Linked DNA regions of Homo sapiens: regions 2, 3, 4, 5 and 6 are each linked to region 1. Evidence: promoter capture Hi-C in human tissues and cell types (Jung and others, 2019). All regions are on one chromosome and are shown on one strand. The core of a region is centred on a gene start or on the middle of the fragment in contact, and the rest is flanking DNA. Distances in the headings are between cores, read along the strand shown. Region 1 holds the start of ITGB2 (integrin subunit beta 2). Region 2 holds the start of COL18A1 (collagen type XVIII alpha 1 chain). Region 3 overlaps LINC02575 (long intergenic non-protein coding RNA 2575). Region 4 overlaps POFUT2 (protein O-fucosyltransferase 2). Region 5 overlaps ADARB1 (adenosine deaminase RNA specific B1). Region 6 holds the start of KRTAP10-9 (keratin associated protein 10-9).

The links. Contacts are between HindIII fragments. The study calls those that stand out against the background at their distance.
Region 2: the fragment with the promoter of COL18A1 here is called in contact with the fragment with the promoter of ITGB2 in region 1 in 4 of the 25 tissues and cell types used here (IMR-90 fibroblasts, heart right ventricle, neural progenitor cells and 1 more).
Region 3: a contact is called between a fragment that was not itself captured here and the fragment with the promoter of ITGB2 in region 1, in 2 of the 25 tissues and cell types used here (dorsolateral prefrontal cortex and lymphoblastoid cells).
Region 4: a fragment that was not itself captured here is called in contact with the fragment with the promoter of ITGB2 in region 1 in 2 of the 25 tissues and cell types used here (IMR-90 fibroblasts and lymphoblastoid cells).
Region 5: a contact is called between a fragment that was not itself captured here and the fragment with the promoter of ITGB2 in region 1, in 2 of the 25 tissues and cell types used here (IMR-90 fibroblasts and mesenchymal stem cells).
Region 6: a contact is called between the fragment with the promoter of KRTAP10-9 here and the fragment with the promoter of ITGB2 in region 1, in 1 of the 25 tissues and cell types used here (mesendoderm cells).

What each region holds. Positions count from the first base shown.
Region 1 is chr21:44,919,196-44,922,682 of GRCh38, forward strand. ITGB2 (integrin subunit beta 2) reads right to left here and starts at 1,704. Exons shown (of 16, transcript NM_000211.5): 1 at 1,626-1,704. It overlaps ITGB2-AS1 (ITGB2 antisense RNA 1), which reads left to right and starts at 1,840. Exons shown (of 3, transcript NR_038316.1): 1 at 1,840-2,132. RefSeq lists a silencer at 295-354. The HindIII fragment of the contact is 46,650 bases long and covers 1-3,487 here.
Region 2 is chr21:45,403,471-45,406,957 of GRCh38, forward strand. It overlaps COL18A1 (collagen type XVIII alpha 1 chain), which reads left to right and starts at 1,695. Exons shown (of 42, transcript NM_001379500.1): 1 at 1,695-1,771; 2 at 1,909-2,003. The coding sequence starts at 1,761. It overlaps BNAT1 (breast cancer associated ESR1 regulating natural antisense transcript 1), which reads right to left and starts at 2,892. Exons shown (of 2, transcript NR_183526.1): 1 at 2,697-2,892; 2 at 336-1,026. RefSeq lists an enhancer at 850-1,550. The HindIII fragment of the contact is 38,297 bases long and covers 1-3,487 here.
Region 3 is chr21:44,487,346-44,490,832 of GRCh38, forward strand. It overlaps LINC02575 (long intergenic non-protein coding RNA 2575), which reads left to right. Exons shown (of 2, transcript NR_155204.1): 2 at 3,049-3,487. Among named protein-coding and RNA genes, the nearest start is that of LINC02575, 3.5 kb to the left of the region's middle. The HindIII fragment of the contact is 6,132 bases long and covers 1-3,487 here.
Region 4 is chr21:45,269,123-45,272,609 of GRCh38, forward strand. POFUT2 (protein O-fucosyltransferase 2) reads right to left here. Exons shown (of 9, transcript NM_133635.6): 7 at 717-897. Among named protein-coding and RNA genes, the nearest start is that of POFUT2, 17 kb to the right of the region's middle. The HindIII fragment of the contact is 5,405 bases long and covers 1-3,487 here.
Region 5 is chr21:45,214,707-45,218,193 of GRCh38, forward strand. All of the region lies in intron 9 of ADARB1 (adenosine deaminase RNA specific B1), which reads left to right. Among named protein-coding and RNA genes, the nearest start is that of LINC00334, 18 kb to the right of the region's middle. The HindIII fragment of the contact is 3,297 bases long and covers 1-3,213 here.
Region 6 is chr21:44,625,459-44,628,945 of GRCh38, forward strand. It overlaps KRTAP10-9 (keratin associated protein 10-9), which reads left to right and starts at 1,635. Exons shown (of 1, transcript NM_198690.3): 1 at 1,635-2,920. The coding sequence starts at 1,714. The coding sequence ends at 2,592. The region is part of intron 1 of TSPEAR (thrombospondin type laminin G domain and EAR repeats); the gene reads right to left. RefSeq lists an enhancer at 560-1,255. The HindIII fragment of the contact is 22,066 bases long and covers 1-3,487 here.

The sequences.
Region 1 (3,487 bases), core at 454-2,953:
TGTTCTGTGGCCCTGCTCAGGATGGCACCCGGCGGGGACTGGCCCTGGGGCCGAGGCATGGGCTCAGCCGCCGCCCTGCAGGGACGTAGCCAGGGACCTCTTCCCAGCAGAGGGACTCCCCCACTCATCCCCAGAATACTGAGGGGCACGCTGGGTGCCAGGCTGGCAGGGACCCTGGGGATTCTGCTGTGAGCTGGATGGGGAAGGAGTTCCTTCCTAAAATGTGGAGTCTGGAGGCCACTCTTGGTAAAGTGCTGGCCCCCGGGGATTCTGCAGTGAGCTGGGCATGGATTCTGCAGTGAGCTGGGCTTCACTCATGGTGAAACGCTGGGGTGACGGCAGACAGCCCAGAGCTTCTAGCAGCTCATTTCTGTGAAGCCTCCAGAATCCGGCCTCAGCCCCCAAACCCGCAGGCGTTGCGCCACCGTCACGGGGAAGGCGAGTGACAGCGAGTGTCCCCTATGCCCCCACAGCTCGCTCCCAGGCTGAGCTCTCCGGCCATCCCCCCCCTTCCCCATTGCAGCCATGCCACCCCTCCTTCTCCCCACCCAGGAACTGACAGAGGAGAGGGGCCCCGGATGGACAGGGACAGCAGGGCAGAATCCCAGCTCCCAGATCCAGGGGAGGGGGGATTGGGTGTGGGGACGGTGGTGCAAGGGGTGGTGCCAGGGGTGGAGGATGCATGGGGAGGGCTGGCCCCAAGAGTGCAGTGTTGGGGGAAGGGGGCCAGGTGGGCCTGGGACCCAGGGGCGTGGCTTCAATCCCCCTCCCACCAGGACCTTGGGAATGGCCTCCAGGAGCCTGTTGTGGGGAGGCCAGGGTCACCAGCTGAACCAACTCGACCAGAATCGCACAGCGGTGCCCGCTCCCCTACAGCAAGACGTCACCCAGGGGTCCCCACGGAGGAGGCAGGGAAGCTCGAGGGTCCCAGAGGAGCATGGAGCATGTGCCACACCACACCACACTACATTACACATGTGCACCATACATGTACATACAACAGACTCCCCACATCACATGCGCACACTCGCACACCATACATGCACACACACACACCACACTACGCTATGCCACACACGTGCACCATACATGCACACCATGCCACACTACACACACGACACTACACACCACGAACCACACCACACCATATCACACACCACACACTGCGAGTCGATCTGGAGATGGAATCGCTGTAGCCAGGCGGGGCAGCATGCAGACAGGAGGGCCTAACACAGGCAGGCGCAGCAGGTTCACAGAGGAGGCCCCGGGAACCTGCCTCCTGCCCAGCCCGGAGCACCAGGACCCCCCAGCCGTCCCCCTAGGGGCTTGTGGGCCCAGCCTCTTCCTGGCCTTGCCGGCCTCACAGCCCCTTGTCCTCCCATGCCGGCCCCATCCTCAGCCGCAAGCGCTCCCAGCACACCATGTGGCTCTGCTCTTGGTGGCAGGCACTTCCCCTTGCCGGGTCTCAAAGGGGACCCTGGAGCAGACGGTCTGGAGACCCCTTCCTGCCAGACACCCCTGGGCCGGGGCTATAAGCAGGGCCACCAGGGTCACTCCAGGCTGGGGCAGGAGAGTGCTTCCCTCCAAAAATCACCGTGGACATAGCGGGGCCTCTGCACACTCACCCTCGGTGTGCTGGAGTCCTCGGCGGTGCTCCTGGCTGGGCGTGGGGGCTTTGCTACCAGTCTGCCCTGGGTCACGTCTAGAAACCTCAGCTGGAGGCGCGGGTCGTAAAGTCCTGACACTTCCTGTTCCTCTCAGCTCCTCCTTGGAGGAAGTGGTGGGTTGCACCACCGTGGCCCTTCACCCCTGCCCCTCTCCGCTCTACAGCAGCTCTGATGTCAGAGAGCGGCCCCTTGAGACAGGTGGGACATGTCATTTCTCACATGAGGTCCCGGCGAGAAGGACCTGCTTCCATCAGATTCACACTTGGGAGAGGGGCCCGGCCTCCAGGAGCGCCAGGCAGAAAGGGCACCCATTAGGAAGAAGAACACAGAGGCCATGGGAGTGAAAAGTTTGATGCTGGAAAGCAACAGTAGCACATTCTGCTACAGAGCGGAATGAAAAACCCTGGGGAGCAAATTCCTGAGCCAGAGAATGGAGCGGAGGAACCAGCCAAGGAGGATAAAGAGGTGGGAACAGGCAAGAAAACCTGGGTGCGTGCACGCATTGACATCCACCTGCATGTGAGGGCGGGAGGGGACAGAACAGGGACAGCGAGGAGGAGACACTCAGGTCACAGGAGGAAGGCTGCGGATCTGGGCGGGGACGTGGATTGCGAGGCCACTGAACACCCCAGGGATGGATGGATGAGGTCCTGTTAACTAGGGACATTAGGAGGATACCACAGAACACGAAAGGGAAAATACTACAGGCTCAGAGAGAGAGAGAAGGGAGAGGAGGAGGAGGAGGAAGAGGAGGGAAAGAGATTATACCTAGAAAAAAAACCCAAATCAGACATCTTCAGAGCAAGGACTCAGACACATTACTACCCTAAACTCTGTTTTATTTATTTATTTATTTTTATGTTTTCAGTTTTTTTTGAGACAGAGTTTTGCTTTTGTCACCCAGGCTGGAGTGCAGTGGCGTGATCTCAGCTCACTGCAACCTCTGCCTCCCGGGTTCAAGCAATTCTCCTGCCTCAGCCTCCCAAGTAGCTGGGATTACAGGCACATGTACCACCACGCCTGGGTAATTTTTGTATTCTTAGTAGAGACAGGGTTTCACTATGTTGACCAGGCTGGTCTTGAACTCCTGGCTTCAAGTGATCCATCCACCTCTGCCTTCCAAAGTGCTGGGATTACTGGCGTGAGCCATGGCTCCCGGCTCCTAAACTCTGTTTTAAAGATGTCTTGCAGAAATAGACATGAAGAAATCCATGAGAAATACAAGAGCAGATGATACAAAGTTGGGCAAAGAAATAAGTAAAAATTATGATGTCATAACCTGTTGATTTAAAAAATAGTGGTAAGAATATTAACGCTGTGAAACAAAACGCCTAGAGGACTGGGTTGGGAGGGGCCAGGGAGCACATTGCCGTTCCATCCTATCTGGGGAGGAATATAGATGCTTGTCAGTGGGCATTTTGATAGAAAATATCTAAGTATATATGCTAACAATTCAAGAGTCTCCTTAAGAATAAAAATAGCATGTATATACCTGAAAAAAAATATGACAAATCTTTATTTTGGGCATGGTGGCTCAAACTTGTAATCCCAGCACTTTGGGAGGCCGAGGTGGGAGGATCACTTGAGCCCAGGAGTTCGAGACCAGCCTAGGCAACATTTGGAGACCCAGACCCTCATCTCTACAAAAAAATTTTCTAAGAATTCGCCAGGCATGGTAGCACGCGATATGGTCCAGGCTACTTGGGAGGCTGAGGTGGGAGAATTGCTTGAGCCCAAGAGGTTGAGGCTACGGTGAACCATGCTTACACCACTGCACTCCAGTCTGGGTAACTGAGAAAAAAAAAAAAAAAAAAAGGCAA
Region 2 (3,487 bases), core at 445-2,944, 480 kb after region 1:
AGGGGCCAGACAGACCAGGAGCCTCGGGAGGAGAAGCCACCAGGACCCAGGACACATGAACACCCCTGACACACACTCACACGCACACAGGCTGACACACATGCACACACTGTACATAGTTACAGAAACACACACATGCACACACACAGCACAGAGAGACATGCACACACATGCACACAAGGTACGGTCACAGACACACACACAGCAGACACACAGACACACCCACTGCACTGCAGAGACACCACCAAACCCTGATAGACACACACAGACTCACTCCTCCATCCACCTGAGAAACAAAAGTTTTGCAGAAGTGTGCGATGACCACTTCTACTCTATGCTGTTCTCCTTAATCTTTTTATTTTTAAAAAATGTGGGTCATAATCCTTTACATTGATTTCCTTCCTCACAGTGCACCGCAAGCACTCAGGGAAGGACTCCAGGTTTGAAGGCAGATGCTGGTCGGGACCCGACCAGGTGGCTGGGCGGGAAGAGGTGAGATCGGGCAGGATTGGGCCTGGGAAGGCTGAGGCAGGCAGGGATGATGCCAGCAGAGGAGAATCCCAAGCAGGCCCCGCGGCTGCGGCTGGAGAGCTCCAGGGGCGGAGAGGAGGTGGGAGGCAGCAGTCAGGTTGGGAGGACCCTGGCAAGCAAGCCCAGAGAGGAGGGCCGGGAGGGCCGGGCACTAGAAGTGTGAAGTCACTGCTGCCTCCTGGGGCTGCTTCAGAGGATGGGTGGGGCCACGTGTGGGGAGATCAGGGAGACTGGAGACTACGCTGTTTGGTCCAGGCATAGGAGATGAGCCCTGGCCGGGAAGGGACAGTGTGGATGGGCCAGGCGGAATCAGAGGGTTTCAGAGAAAGCCGTCAAGCCAGTGCCATGAGTTTCGCGCACACGAGGAGGGAGCAGGCTGGGGGGTGTTGCTGGTGTGAGGGCTCTCTGGTTGCAGGGAGCGGTCCGGTCGGGTGGGGGCACAGCTGCCAGGAGGAAAGCGCCCAGGGCCTGCAGGTGGGGCTCAGGATGCTGGCCCTGAAGAAATAGAAACAGGGTTTTCACCTGGGAGGGAGGAGGAGCCTGGGAACTGGGGAGGAAGAGGCTCTGCTGGGCCGCGCCCTGGGAACAGGGGGACCTGGGGACAGATCTGGCCCTCGCACGCCCCTCCTGTCTCGCGTCCGTCCCTCCGTGCAGCCGGGGCAGGACCCTGCAGGGGCCTTGCGGGCCGGAGGTGCCGGCTTCCTCCTCCGTCCCGTCCCCCCCGCGGTGACTCTATTCAAATCTCCCCCCTTCCCGCTGCCCCACCGGACTCAGGGGCTGGGGTCGTAGCCCGGCGGGCAGCGGTGTTCACCTTCCGCATAAACCTGGGCTTCCTCGCGGGGCAGCCCCCGGGCCCTGTGCTGGGTCGCAGCCTCGGGCGGTTCCCTCGGGGCGGGACGTGTCCCCGTCCGTCCTCGCCCGTCCCCGCCGCCCCCGGGTCCCGGCCCGCCCCGTCCTCGCAGCCGCAGGTCCGCTGCGGCGCCCGCCCCCCTCTCCCCTCCCCGGGCCTTGCCCTGCTCGTCGCTCCGCCCCCTGCCCGGCCCCTGCCCGGCCCCGCCCCGCGCCCGCCCCCTGCCCGCGCCCGCCCCGCCCCCTGCCCGGCCCCTGCCCGGCCCCTGCCCGCCCCCTGCCCGGCCTCCCAGCGGCGGCGGCTGCAGCGCGGCGGTCCGAGCGGGTGCACCGCGGCGGAGGAGGCAGCATCCCGCGGCGCTGACGGTCCTGGGGAGAGCATGGCGCCGAGGTGAGGCCGGGGCTGCGGGCAGGGGTTGGGGGACGCCAAGATGCGGCTGCGGGGGTCGCGGGGGTCGCGGGGCTCGGCCGGGTCCTGCGGGGGTCGCGGGGGTCCTGCGGGGTCTGACCCGTGCCTGTCCCGCGCAGGTGCCCCTGGCCATGGCCGCGGCGGCGGCGCCTCCTGGACGTGCTCGCGCCCCTGGTCCTGCTGCTCGGGGTCCGCGCGGCCTCCGCGGAGCCAGGTAAGACCCGGGCGGGACGGGAAGGTTCGCGCCGGTGCCCGCCGGCCTCGCCGCCCTGGCTGGGGTCCCCGCCCGGCTCCCTCACCCCCGCCCCGGCCGCTCTGGGTTCAGCCCCGGCCCTGCCCACGCGCGCAGGAGGCGCCGGAGCCGGACGGAGCGGGGCGGGGTGGCCGGAGTCCCGCCCATTCATTCTCCCCGCGGGGTCCGGGCCGGGAGGGGTGCGCGGTGCGAGCGGCCGGAGTCCCCGCGCGGGGACCGAACCTCCGCGGCCGGCGGGGTCGTCGGTGCCGGGAGGGCTCGGGGCGGGGCCGCGGGGTCTCGGGAGACGCGGCCTCTGTCGCCGTCACGGCCTCGTCCCCGCAGCGCCGGGTCCCGGGACTGACCGCGGGCGGAAGGCGGCGGAGCGCGGGGCGTCGTCTCCGCGTTTCCAACCTGTTGAGGCTCCTCGCCGCGGGCCGGGCCTTGTGCGCCTCTGTCCCCGCCGCCCTCAGGCCTCTGTCCCCGCGCCCGCCGTGGTGTCGGGTTGCGCGGTCCCCTTTGATGCCAACCGAGCGCCGCGCGGTCCGAGAACAATGCCCAGAAGCCGCTGCCCCGCCGGCCTCGCCGCTTCCCGTGCGCGGCAAACGGTGCGCGGGGCCCGTGGGGACCTTCCTGCCTCCAACCCCGGGACCCAGTTCCCCACCACCTGCTAACCGGGGCCTCCTGCCTCCAGCCAGCCCAGCAGAGGCCCGGGGGAGGCGGCGGGGACGCGGACCCCAGGGGAGCCCCGCCCAAAGGGCCTGGGTGCCTTGTCGCGGGTGGAATCCCACCCGGGGGTCCACGCAGCCAGCGCCTGCCTCCGACTCGACTCCACACCTGCTTGCTACAGCGGGTGAGGAAGCAGGAAAGGGGGAGGGAGGGATGTCGTCTGGATTCCTGTAATAATTTGTTTCATTGTTTCCAATCGACTTAGTCACCAGGTTAAATAGTAGCATAGACCTTTCAAAAAAGTAGCTAGCTTATAAGTAGATGTATTGAAAACACCTGCTTGTTGAGTCGTAGACAATTCCTCATTTACTGTGTGAACTCTAGGGGGTGAAACACGGGCGGAGAGCGGCTGTGAGCTCACGCGGCTCCATCCCCACAGCGGCCCAGGGTCACTCGGGGCCATTAATCAGGCCGCAGAGCTGCCCTCTGAGCCGGGCCGCCAGCGCCCACAGGGCCCAGACCAGGGCTCCCTGGGCGGGATGTTTTAAATCGCACAGGGACAAAGGAAAGGAAAGACGCTGGGGCCCAAGCCCGAGCTTATGAAACGTTATCAAGGAGGAGATGTAAAAGGTGATGGTTTTTTTGCCTTTGAATAGAAAAAACAAAAACTGTTAACGCGAGCTTTGGTGAGATGCAATCTTGAGATCTAAGAGTGGGGTGTAAAGTCAGTGCAGGCCTCAGCAGGGAAAGTTACGGTTGGCCAAATGGGCTGTGCGTTCCTCTTCTGTCCCGGGCCT
Region 3 (3,487 bases), core at 653-3,152, 430 kb before region 1:
CAATGGTTGAACTAGTTTACAGTCCCACCAACAGTGTAAAAGTGTTCCTATTTCTCCACATCCTCTCCAGCACCTGTTGTTTCCTGACTTTTTAATGATTGCCATTCTAACTGGTGTGAGATGGTATCTCATTGCGGTTTTGATTTGCATTTCTCTGATGGTCGGTGATGGTGAGCATTTTTTCATGTGTTTTTTTGGCTGCATAAATATCTTCTTTTGAGAAGTGTCTGTTCATGTCCTTTGCCCACTCTTTGATGGGGTTGTTTTTTTCTTGTACATTTGTTTGAGTTCATTGTAGATTCTGGATATTAGCTCTTTGTCAGATGAGTAGGTTGTGAAAATTTTCTCCCATTTTGTAGGTTGCCTGTTCCCTCTGATGGTAGTTTCTTTTGCTGTGCAGAAGCTCTTTAGCTTAATTAGATCCCATTTGTCAATTTTGGCTTTTGTTGCCATTGCTTTTGGTGTTTTAGACATGAAGTCCTTGCCCATGCCTATGTCCTGAATGGTAGGGCCTAGGTTTTCTTCTAGGGTTTTTATGGTTTTAGGTCTAACGTTTAAGTCTTTAATCCATCTTGAATTGATTTTTGTATCTTTTTTCCTTTTCTAAGTGAGAGGGCTCCCCTCCCAACTCTGTTTCTGATGGGGAAGTTAGCAGAGGACCAGCGACCCCTGCTGGCGGAGAGCTGCAAATTTGGCAGGGCACATTTGAGACACTCTCAACAGATAGAACCAGCCTCTAAAATATCTTTTCAGTCCCAAACTCGATTCCAAGCTTCAGGCTGAGGTCTTAGAAAGAAAAAACAGGTCTGAGGGATCCAAAGCCAGGGAACAGGCACAATGTAAATGGGTAGCACCAATTCCTGCTGACTAAACCCCCCACCCTATGGAAGGAGGCCATGCTTCATGGCATAAACAGGCCCAGGGAACTGAAGGTTTGCCGACAGCAGGGAGAAAGGGAGGCATAGGCAAGGGCGGTTCGTTCCTAGTCTCCAGGTTTTCCCTGCTTCATGGGTACATACCACATTAGTACCCATGGCTGGCACCTGCCAAGGTCGCCAGGGCTCAGGGATAAGGAGTGGAGACTGAAAGGATCATGCTCGCTTTCTCTCTCCATCACACCCTGAGTTTTCGCTGAAAGAAGGAAGAGAATGAGGGGCTTCTCTATTCACTGTCTCCAGTTCTCTTCAACACCCCCAGTTTATACTCCTCTGTAGTGTACCCTGAACCATCGGGACTGCTTTGACCCTCAGAATCTGCAGGAGAAACACCTCAGAGCCCTCTGCACAAAGGTTTGGCCAAATTATGAAGGACTGGGTTGGCCCTAGGAAGGAATCATTCATTTCCATACCATTCGGCTGTTGAGACTTTTCTGTAGATGTGAGGACAGATGGCCTGAGGCCCCGTATGTGCAGGGCCTTTCTATACCTTGCAAGGAAATCCAGACCTTGCCGACAGTGTAGGATTCATCCAGCCCTCCTGTTTGCCATCTCAGAGAAGGCTGCAAGGGGTAAGCCCAGGGAATTAAAGATACGAGTCCTAGAGGCACCCCGGAAAGAGAGGCCAGCTCCCTCAAGCCCTGCTCCTCTGGGTCCACCCCGACCTCCCTATCCAGCTTCAGCCTCTCACTTGGCCCCTCCTACAAATTCTCACTCTAAACAAGCCCCAGTCTCACTCTTGCTCCTCCAACAGATGCCTGGTGAATTTGGGCCAGCAAGGTCCAGGTCCCCTTCTCCTTACAGGACTTAAAGTAAATTAAGGGGGGATCTGGGCAAGTTTTCAGATGATCCTCATAGGTATATAGAGGCTTTCTAGAATTTCAACCAAATAGTTGAACTCTCCTGGAGAGAGACGTTATGTTACTTTTGAATCAGACTGTGATAGACACTGAGAAACAGGCCACTCTACAAGCTGCAGAGAGATTTGGGGATGAGCTTTGCATCACATGTAGCATCAGGAAAGGGGGTGAATATTATCCAACCGGAAGAGAAGCAGTACCAGTGAATGACCGTAAATGGGACCCCAATCATGAGATGGAAGCCGGGCGGAGGAGACACTTTCAGGTGTGCGTAATAGAAGGCTTACGTAAGACTAAGAACAAGTTGTCCATGATCAACCAGGAATTTGATGAAAATCCAATCGCCTTCTAGGAAAGGCTAAGAGAGGCCTTGGTAAAGCTCACCTCTCTCTCTCCTGGTTCAGTTGAGGGACAGTGAATCCCAAAGCATAACTTTATTACTCAGGCGGCTCCTGACATCAGGAGGAAGTTGCAAAAACTGGGCCATTGGACCAGATAGTACATTAGAGGACCTCCTAAAAGTGGCCACCTCAGTCTTTTATAATAGAGACGGAGGCCCAGGACAGTGAGAGGAGACACAGGAAAGAGACAAAAGCTTCAGTGGCCACCGTGTACGTCCACAAACCCCAGAATTCCCAGGGTGCACCTGTTAACTGCTAAAGATATGGCAAGAATAGTTACTTCATTCTAAAGTTTATTTGCTCTTGTACAAGGTTTAATTTCTTGCACCAGGGGTGAAACAGCTCAGGGTGCAACTTTGCTGTTAGTATATTTCACTTCTTATCTTTGTGATCTTTGGGAGTACATTCTTTCTTTTTATAACACACATGTTTAACCCATGCATACTTAACCTTATAAAACCTGGGTTTTTTTTTTTCTCTCATGCCTAGAACCATCAAACTCCAAGTGGACAGGCAACTGGAGCCTCAGATAATGACTCCCCTTTGCTAGGAACCCTTAGACAGACCTCTGGGAGGAATTTGACTGCCGTTTTCTCAAAAACAACGCCCCCTGTCAGCGGGAAGCAGCTAAGACAGGTCATCGTCCATATTCTAATAGCAGTTAGATGTACGTTTTCAGAGAGGGGAAATGATACAGGAGTGCGGGGAAGGGAAGAGTGTCATCTCTTTAAATGATACAGAAGGGAGGTGCTGGGTAGAAGAGGGTGTGGTCCCTGGCTAGGGCTCCACCCCCACGGACCTAGGTGAGGGCAGGCACTTTCTCCTTCTCACCCAAATGTTGCATTTTCCAAGATCACCCTGGCCTGCCATGCCCCCATCCTGGGCCTATAAAAACCCTGAGACCCTAGCAAGGCAGAGATAGAAGCTGCCGGATGCTGAGAGAAACACATCAGTGGAAGGGAAGAAGAAAAGCGGCTGGACATGGAGAGGACGTCAGTGGAGCATGCCGGCGGAAGAGCACACCCACAGACCCTGGCACGCCGGCAGGCCACGTAGCGGCAGGCCACGTAGCGGCAGGCCACGTAGCGGCAGGCCACGTAGCGGCAGGCCAAGGCGGAGTTTGGCCGGGGCAGTCGGAGGAGAGCTAGGCCACTAAGCAGCTCAACTCCAGGAGAAAACCATCTCCCTTCTGGCTCCTCCATCAGCTGAGAGCTGCTTCCACTCAATAACACTTCGCACTGATTCTCCAAGCCCAGGTGTGATCCGATTCTTCTGGTACACCCAGGCAAGA
Region 4 (3,487 bases), core at 304-2,803, 350 kb after region 1:
AGCCCCTCTGCCCGGCCAGCCGCCCCGTCTGGGAGGGAGGTGGGGGGGTCAGCCCCCCGCCCGGCCAGCCGCCCCGTCCGGGAGGTGAGGGGCGCCTCTGCCCGGCCGCCCCTACTGGGAAGTGAAGAGCCCCTCTGCCCGGCCACCACCCCGTCTGGGAGGGGTACCCAACAGCTCATTGAGAACAGGCCAGGATGACAATGGCGGCTTTGTGGAATAGAAAGGCGGGAAAGGTGGGGAAAAGATTGAGAAATCGGATGGTTGCCGTGTCTGTGTAGAAAGAAGTAGACATGGGAGACTTTTCATTTTGTTCTGCACTAAGAAAAATTCTTCTGCCTTGGGATCCTGTTGATCTGTGACCTTACCCCCAACCCTGTGCTCTCTGAAACATGTGCTGTGTCCACTCAGGGTTAAATGGATTAAGGGCGGTACAAGATGTGCTTTGTTAAACAGACGCTTGAAGGCAGCATGCTCGTTAAGAGTCATCACCAATCCCTAATCTCAAGTAATCAGGGACACAAACACTGCGGAAGGCCGCAGGGTCCTCTGCCTAGGAAAACCAGAGACCTTTGTTCACTTGTTTATCTGCTGACCTTCCCTCCACTATTGTTCCATGACCCTGCCAAAATCCCCGTCTGTGAGAAACACCCAAGAATTATCAATAAAAAAAATAAATTAAAAGAAAGGAAAGAAACGAAAGCATTGAAGCTCCATACCCTTTCTGACGGCATCTGTGGCCACAAACACCTTGTCCAGCCGGTGGGTCTTCATGAGGCTGCGGATCTTCCTCACGGCCCCTTCCAGACTGGGTACATCCTGTCTGTGACCCCAGATGAAATCTTTTCTTCTCAGGTGGACTCCCAGGTAGGGGCCCCCTAGCGCGGAGCCCAGCTTGACCTAGCAAAGAACCACAAGGAAATGCAGAAGCTGACAGGCGGGCTCGGGGCTCATCCTGGGCACCGGGTGGGACTCGAGACGCAGAGGGATGACCCTTTCCATGTGGCCTCCTCCACGGGGTGGCTCCAGGGCTGTCTAAGGGATTCAGGTGGAATCTCGGGGGCGACCAGATGTCTTTCTAAGAAGACAGTGAAGCAGTATTAATTACCAGAAATCATTTTATCTGAGGTAAAGAAAAATATTTAAAAAGAGAACAGCATGTGGAGGCTCACGCTGTGAACTTTTCCTCCGAGAACCACCGCAGGGACGTGCCACAAAGAGTTCACGGATCCTGTGGACAAAGCAGCTCACAGCTGCAAACTCCCCGGGAGCCAGAATGCTCTGCTGCCCTCTTGACAGTGCCACCTCCTGGCTGGAGGCCACCAACGCAAATGGCTACAGCAAATTCTAACCAACAACCCTGCTCCAAGGAAGGAGAAAGCAACAGCTAATCCCACCACCTGCAACCTCCTGGCTGTCCACAGGTCCCGAGTCTGTCCACGTGACAACTTCACTGCAGCATAACCAGCATTCGAGAAAGCCAGTGCACTCAACAAAACTACAACCAAGGACCCCCCCAGAGTCCACTTCACTCCCCCGCCACCTCCAGCAGAGCAGGTGCTGGAACCCATGGCTGGGAGACCCGAAGACGGATCACAGCACAGGACTCTCCGCAGACATTCCCCAGCAGCATCCCAGGGCCTGGTAGCCCCACTGGGTGGCTAGACCCAGAAGAGCAATAACAATCACTGCAGCCCAGCTCTCAGGGAGCCCCATCCCTAGGGGAAGGCGAAGAGCGCCACAGAGCACCCCGTGGGATAAAAGAATCTGAACAGTAGCCCGTGAGTTCCAGATCTTTCCACTGAAGTAGTCTGCCCAAATGAGAAGCAGGCAGAAAAGCAATTGTGATAATATGACAAAACAAGGTTCTATAGTACCCCCAAAAGATCATAGTAGCTCCCCAGCAATGGATCCAAACCAGGAAGAAATCTCTCAATTGCCAGATAAAGAATTCCGAAGGTTCATTATTAAGCTACTCAAGGACATACCAGACAAAGGTGAAAACCAACTTAAAGAAATTAAAAAAAAAACAACAACAACAATATGGATGAAAAATGCTCCAGATAACTAGGTATCTTAAAGGAAAAACAATTGCAACTTCTGGAAATGAAAGACACACTTAAAGAAACGAAATACACTGGAAAGTTTCAATAATAGACTAGAACAGGAGAAGAAAGAGCTTCAGAGCTCGAAGACAAGGTTTTCAAATTAGCCCAATCCAACAAACAAGAAAAAAGAATAGTAAAAAAAATGAACAAAGCCTCCAAGAAATTTGGAATTATGTTAAACAACCAAACCTAAGGATAATTGGTGTTCCTGAGGAAGAAGAGTAATCTAAAAGTTTGGAAAACTTATTTGAGGGAATAATTGAGGAAAACTTACCTGGTCTTGCTAGAGATCTAGACATCCAAATACAGGAAGCTCAAAGAATACCTGGGCAATTCATCACAAAAAGATCATCTCCTAGGCACACAGTCATCAGGTTATCTAAAGTCAAGATGAAGGAAAGAATCTTAAGAGCTGTGAGCCAAAAGCACCAGGTAACCTATAAAGGAAAACCTATCAGATTCACAGCAGATTTCTCAGCAGAAACCTACAAGCTACAAGGGACTGGGGTCCTATCTTCAGCCTCCACAAACAAAGTAATTATCAGCCAAGAATTTTATATCCAGCAAAACTAAGCTTCATAAATGAAGGAGAGATCATCTTTTTCAGACAAACAAATGCTGAGAGAATTCACCACTCCCAAAGCCAGCTCTACAAGAAATGTTAAAGAAGTTCTAAATCTTGAAACAAAACCTCAAAATACGCCAAAATAGAACCTTCTTAAAGCATAAATCTCACAGGGCATATAAAACAACGCAATGAAAAAGAAAGAAAACAGAGTATTCAGGCAGCAACTAGTATGATGAATAGAATACAGTACCTCACACCTCAATACCAAAGTTGAATGTAAATGGCTTAGAGACTCCACTTAAGAGAAACAGAATGGCAGAATGGAAAAAAATCCACCTGAAAGCTGTGAGGCAAAAGTCTTCAAGAGACTGACCTAACACATAAGGACTCACACAAACTTAAGGTAAAGGGGTGGAAAAAGATACTCCATGCAAATGGACACCAAAAGCGAGTACAGTAGTATTCTTATATCAGACAAAACAGACTTTAAAGCAACAACAGTTAAAAAAGATGGAGGAACATTATATAATGATAAAAGGATCAGTCCAACGGGAGAATGCCACAATCCTAATTATACATGCACCTAACACTGGAGCTACCAAATTTATAAAACAATTACTACTAGACCTAAAAAATGAGATAGACAGCAATACAACATAAGTGGGGACTTCAATACTCCACTGACAGCACTGGACAGGTCATCAAGACAGAAAGCCAACAAAGAAACAATAGACTCAAACTATACCCTGGAACAAGTGGACTAAAATATTTACAGAACATTCTACGCAACAGCTGCAGAATATACATTCTGTTC
Region 5 (3,487 bases), core at 315-2,814, 300 kb after region 1:
GTTTCTGGACTCTGTTGTTTGCCTTTAATCTCTTTGTCTAAAGGCCAGTATTACATTGTCATGATTACTATAGTTTTATTATAAGTTTTGAGGTCAGGTAGAGTTAGTCTTCCAACTTTGTACTTTTTCAAAGTTGTCTTGGCTGCTTAGGTCCTTTTTGTATTTCCATAGCAATTTTATAGTCCACTCATCAGTTCTACATCCTTATTGCACTGGTTAGGACCTCCAGTACAATGTTGAGTAGAAGTGATGACAGCAGACATCCTTCTCTTACATGTCATCTTGGGGGAACACATTCAGTCTTTCACCATTAGGTATGATGTTGGCTGTAGGATTTTTTATTGCTGTTTTTTGTTTTAGAGACAAGGTCTCACTCTTTCACCCAGGCTGGAGTGCAGTAACGTGATCATAGCTCATTGTAACCTGAAACTCCTGGGCCCAAGTGATCCTCCTGTCTCAGCCTCCTGAGTAGCTGGGACTACAGGTGCATGCCACCATGCCTGGTTCATTTTTAAATTTTTTATAGAGACAATGTCTTCCTATGTTGCCCAGATTGGTCTTGAACTCCTGGCCTCAAGCAACCCGCCTGCCTCAGTCTCCCAAAGTGCTGAGATTATAGGAATGATCCACCATATCTGGCTGCTGTAGGTTTTTTACAGATGTCTTTATCAGCTCAAGACATTTTTTTTTTCTATTTATAGCTTACTCAGCGTTTTTAATCAAGAATGTATGCTGGATTTTGTCTGATGCTTTTTTTCTGCTCTTAGATGACTGTTGTCATTGCAGTGACTTAGGCCTATAGTCCCAGCTACTTGGGAACTAAGGCAGGAGGATCACTTGAGCCCTGGAGTTTGAGGCCATCCTGGGCAATGTAGTGAGACCCCATCTGAAACAACAACAACAAAAAATGAGATGAGCATTTAGTTCATTTTTCAGTTTGCTAGTGGTGACGTTAAAAAAAAATTAAACCAACTTTGCATCTTGGGATAAACGTTATATGGTTATTATGTGCTATTCTTTTTATATATTGTTGGATTCAGTTTGCTAAAATTTCATTTAGAATTTTTGTATTTATATTTGTCTGTAGGGATATTGGGCTATCATTTTAGTTTAATGTCTTTGTCAGGCATAAAATGAGTTGGGGTGCATTTCTTTCTCTTCAGTTTTCTGGAAGAGTTTGTTTGGATTTGGTATTATTTCTTTAAATATATGGTTAAATTCACCAGTGAAACCATTGGGCCTGAAGTTTGCTTTGTAAGAAAATTCTAACTACAATTTATTTTTCTATAATAGATTTAGGGCTATTCATGTTATCTGTTTTTATCTTTTTTCTTGAGTAAGCTTCAGTAATTTGTCTTTCAGGGAATTTGTCCATTTCATCTAATTTGTCTAATATATTGGCATAAAAGCATTCAGAATATTCATTTTAATATCTGTGATATCTCTAATGATATCGTCTTATCCCTTATATTGATGATTTGTATCTTCTCTTGGTTGTTTTTTTCTGATCAGTCTAGCTGGAAGTTTTTCAATTCTGTTTGTCTCTAAGTGCCAACTTTTAGGTTCAGTGATTTTTGTCTTTTGTTTTATATTTCAATAATTTTTACTCTGATTTTAATTATTTCTTTTTTTTCCGCTTACCTGGTGTTTCAATTGCCCATCTTTTTGTAGTTTTTTAAGGTGCTAGTTGAGGTCATTGTTTTAAGACCCTTTTTACTGCTTTTGTAGCATTTAAAAATTATGATATGTTTTCATTTTCACTTATATTAAAATACTTTGTCCCTTGGGTTATTTAGAAGTCTGCTATTTAGTTTCAAAATACTAGGGATTTTACAGAGATCTTTCTGTTGTTGGTTTTTTAGTTTCATTTAATGACTTCAGTCCTTTTAAATTTATTAGACTTGGTTTTATGGACCAGAATATGATCTATCTTTATAAGTGTTCCACAAAACTTGAAAGAATGTGAATCTGCCACTTTGGGGTAGAGTGATCTGTAAATGTTGATTAGGCCAAGTTGTTTGATTATACTATTTATTTTCTTTTATATTCTTACCGATCTTCTACTTGGTCTATCAGTTATTGAGAGGCAGGATTGAAAATCTCTTAGTTATAATTGTACATTATCTATTTCTTCCCCTTTTTTAGAGTTTTTACTTCCTGTATTTTGTAGCTCTGTGATTAGATGCATAAAAATGTAGGATTGTTGGTTTATCTTAATAAACCGACCTCCTTTACCATTATATGATGACCCTCTTTATTTCTGGTAATAGTGTTTGTTCTGAAATTTGTTTTGAGATTAATATAACCTCCTCAACTTTCTTTTGATTAGTGTTAGCACAGTGTATCTTCTATCCCTTTATATTAAAGTACTTTATCTTAAAAATATGTTTCTTATAGACATATATTTATATATATTTATATGTTTGGATCTTGCTTCTCTCTCCCACCATGGACAATCTCTGCCTTTTCACTGAGGTACTTAGACCATTTACATTTATTGTGATTATTGATATTATTAGGTTTAAATTTCATCTTGCTACTTATTTTCTACGTGTTTCATATGTTCTTTGTTCACTTTTTCCTCATTTTCTTACTGCTTTTGCCTTAATTGGGTGTGTTTGATGATTCCATTTTGACTCCTTCTTGACTTTTGAGCTGTAACTTTTGTTAATTTGGTGGTGGTTTTTAGGGTTTATAGTATGCATTCTTACCACGATCTCCCTTCAAGTGATATTATACTACTTCACATATAGTAAAAGAACCTTACAACAGGATACTTTCGTTTTTCCATTCCCAACCTTTGTGGTATTGTTTTCAGACACTTTTGCATGTGTTAAAAAAATCCACATCTTATTATTTTCATCTTAATAATTATCTTTTAAAGGAATTTAAATAATAAGAAAAAAACCTCTTGTATATTTATCCATGTAGCTATCATTTCCAGGGCTCTTCATTCTTTGTATAGATCTGGATTTCCATTTTGGTATCATTTTTTCTTCTGGCTGGAGGACTTCCTTTTACATTCCTTGTAGCACAAGTCTTCTGATGATGAATTATTTCAGCTTTGGTATGTCTGGGAAAGTATTTTGCTTTCATTTTGAAGTATATTTTGCTGTACAAATATATTTCTGCTGGAATGGCAGGGTCCTTTTTCTCCTTTAAGCACTTTAAAGACATTGCTTCCCTGACTTGTTGTTTGCGTTGTTTCCAGTAAGAAATGTGTTGTTATCTTTATTCCTCTGTGTGTTTTTTGCTCTGGGTTTGCTTAAGATTTTCTCTTAATACTAGTGTTGAACAATTTGTTCTGTTGTGCTTTGGTATATAGTTTTATTCATGTTTCTTGTGCTTGGGATTCATTGAAATTCTTTAATCCATGGGTTTGTTGGTTTCATGAAATTTGGAAATTTTTTATTCATCTTTCTTCAGATATATTTTCCGTTCCCCCTTCTCTCTCCTCACCGTCATGAAATCTAATTACACATATTTC
Region 6 (3,487 bases), core at 385-2,884, 290 kb before region 1:
ATTGATAATGGGACTTGAATTATCTATGATTGAAGCGTATCATAAAGCTATGGCCTGAAAGAGCAGAACCAAATCCATAGCCCAAAATGGACCAGTTCAAAACTTTTCTATCCTGTCTGAAACCCAGTCCTATCCCCAGCGTTCCCACATGCAAGTCTGAGTGGACCTCGGGGAAGGCCGCGGGGAGCGGCATGGCCTCTCTTTCCTTGCTCCCCTTCTCCCTGTTTTGGGCTCTAATTTCTTCAGTGATGGGGACGGGGGAAGGAATGTGCAGGGCCACCACTGTGGGGCTCACTGGCCACTGCTGCACCTTCTCTCCGGCTGCTCCAGTGATCCTGTGCTTCTACCAGCTGCTTCTGCCTCTTCAGTGAGGACCCACTTTAGAGACACCCCCAGGGACAGTAGCTGGAGGACTCTCTCCCTGGGACACCACACTTTGCGTAAGACTGAAGGGCCACCCCTGCCTCCACAGCCTCCTTCTTACAACCTGGGCAGCACTGGTGGGGTGTGGCAGCTGGCCATAGCTGGTCAACTTCTGTCTTATTTTAGAAACCCTGTGGGGACAGGTCTGACCCAGAATGTTAGCATTATTTTTAGAATGAGAGGCCGTTTCCAGCTTTGCCAGATTCACAGCAACAAAGACGTTCTACTCAACATCGTGTAATACGTCTTACTTTATAATGAAATATGCGTATGTGTACTTGAATTTTTAAATAAAAATGTGAAATCACAATCAATATTATAATTAGCTGCTGGGTAGCAATGTTCCTGGAAAGTGATCAGGGCCATTTTATAAGGCAAGAAGCTCGGGACTTCATCATGCCCTGTGGTGATAACAATTCATCATCAAAGATCATGCAGCCGTGAGAGTTGCCTGTGGCTGACCTGGGGGTGTGTGATGGGGCCTGTGGGCAGGGCTGGTGAGAAAAAGATGCTTGCAGTGCAGGGCACACGGAGGAGATGGCTCCAGCAGTGGCGAGGGCTGGCGGCTGCCTGCTGCCTAGCACAGCTACTTCACGGGTTCAGAACCCGAAACCACAGCCCACGATGCTGCCATTGTGCCTCAGCAAGGAGTGGGCTGAGCCCACGATCCCTGCCCTGGAACAGAGTCCTGCTGCCTCCCAAGCAAAGGACAGGGTGGGCAATGAACAGAGGGCAGGAGGCACAGAGGCCATGGGGATTAGAAATTGGCGAGTCCTGTGTCCTACAGCAGGGGAAGGACCATACTAGAGGAGGAGTTTGCACCACAGGAAATAATTCCTAAGGGCCGGCTTCCTGCAGAGGAAGCCCGTGTCCTGAGGCTGCTGGGGCCAGTGGCTGGACGATGCCCCAGCAACCAAAGATGGCCCCAGGCACATCCCACCCACATCCCACCCACCAGACGCCCACAGCCGTCCTTGCCTCCAGAACCCAGCTGGGATCAGGCCCACCCCAACTCCTGCCCCTGAGGTTCCACATGCAACAGACTATAGCCCAGGTGTGACAGGAGATTTGTGAGCTGGGCAATGTCACCAGCAAACAAACATCCCTAATCATGGCAGACGCCGCCTCTCAGCAACAAGGAAGGGGAAGCTGTGGGCCCTGGAACAACAAGGCCAGGAGGGGTATAAAAGCCTGAGAGCCCCAAGAACCTCACACACTCACAAACTCACTCACTGACACACTCACACACTCACTTACACCTCCCCCAGCTCACCTCCTCCCCACCCCAGCATGGCCGCGTCCACCATGTCCATCCGCTCCAGCGCTTACTCCGACTCCTGGCAGGTGGACGACTGCCCAGAGAGCTGCTGTGAGCCCCCCTGCTGCGCCACCAGCTGCTGCGCCCCGGCCCCCTGCCTGACCCTGGTCTGCACCCCAGTGAGCCGTGTATCCAGCCCCTGCTGCCAGGTGACCTGTGAGCCCAGCCCCTGCCAATCAGGCTGCACCAGCTCCTGCACGCCCTCGTGCTGCCAGCAGTCTAGCTGCCAGCCGGCTTACTGCACCTCCTCCCCCTGCCAGCAGGCCTGCTGCGTGCCCGTCTGCTGCAAGCCTGTGTGCTGCGTGCCCGTCTGCTGTGGGGCTTCTTCGTGCTGCCAACAGTCTAGCTACCAGCCAGCTTGCTGTGCCTCTTCCTCCTGCCAGCCGGCCTGCTGTGTGCCCGTCTGCTGCAAACCTGTGTGCTGTGCGCCCACCTGCTCTGAGGATTCCTATTCATGCTGCCAACAGTCTAGCTGCCAGCCAGCTTGCTGCACTTCCTCCCCCTGCCAGCAGTCCTACTGTGTGCCTGTCTGCTGTAAGCCTGTCTGCTGCAAACCCATCTGCTGTGTGCCTGTCTGCTCTGGGGCTTCCTCTTTGTGCTGCCAGCAGTCTGGCTGCCAGCCGGCTTGCTGCACCACCTCCTGCTGCAGACCCTCCTCCTCTGTGTCCCTCCTCTGCCGCCCTGTGTGCAGGCCCGCCTGCTGCGTGCCCGTCTCCTCCTGCTGTGCCCCCACCTCCTCCCGCCAGCCCAGCTATTGCCGCCAGGCCTCCTGTGTGTCCCTTCTCTGCCGCCCTGTGTGCTCCCGCCCGGCCTGCTACAGCTTCTCCTCAGGCCAGAAGTCCAGCTGCTGACGGTCATGTCCCCCAGGGCCAGCCGGGCTCAGGCCCCACCTCCCTGCCAGTCCTTGGACCTCCCAGCCCACCCAGCCTCAGCACAGCTCAACACAGAAGGAGCAGCCCCAGCCACAGCCGCCCAGCCCCGGGGTCTCAGATGCTCACTGGCTCCTCCCTGACCTCCCCCCCGGGCAGGCGAGCCCTGGCTTCTCCTCACGGTGCTTCCTGGCTGCAGACCACAACCCTCCGCTGGTCGCTGGTTGGGGACGGGCCCTCCTGACCCGGGTCTCACCCCCAGCAGCGTCACCCTCTGCCCCTGAGCACCAATAAAGCGTCTGCGGCCCCAGCTGACTCCGTGCTGACTCTCCGCACCCAGGGCGGGAGGGGGCAGAGTGGGGCCTGGCCTGGCTCTGGGGGGCTGGGCCCCGTGGATCTCTTTACTTCCCCAGCTGGGGGGCCTCGGGGGGCTCTTGTGTGACACCTGGAAGCTCCTGTCCACCTCGTGGCACGTTCTGCTGTCCGGCTCCCCTCCCAGGTCCTGTGGGGCCCAAAAGCCTTGTTCACTGGCTGAGTCCCACAGACACCACGTGACTCAGGCTAATGCCCCACTCACTGTGGGTAGAAGCAGCTCCTTCCCATGGCAAGGGTTGGGGCTGTCCCGGGGGGTGGCAGGCCCCAGCTGTGCTGGGAGGTGGGAGACGGGCGGTGGGGGGTGGGTGTGGAGACTTGGGCTCCAGCTGTCCCAGCACTCAGGAGTTCCACTCGGAGAGAGCTTGGCCATCCTGGCCTCCTGTGGACACTCACAGACGCTCAGGGATGGCCCCTGCTCCAGCCCTGGGCTTGCCGCTGGGATGCAGAGCAGAGAACAGACACGTGGTCTCCAGAGCTCCCTGTGCTGGGCTGGGTGGGTGGA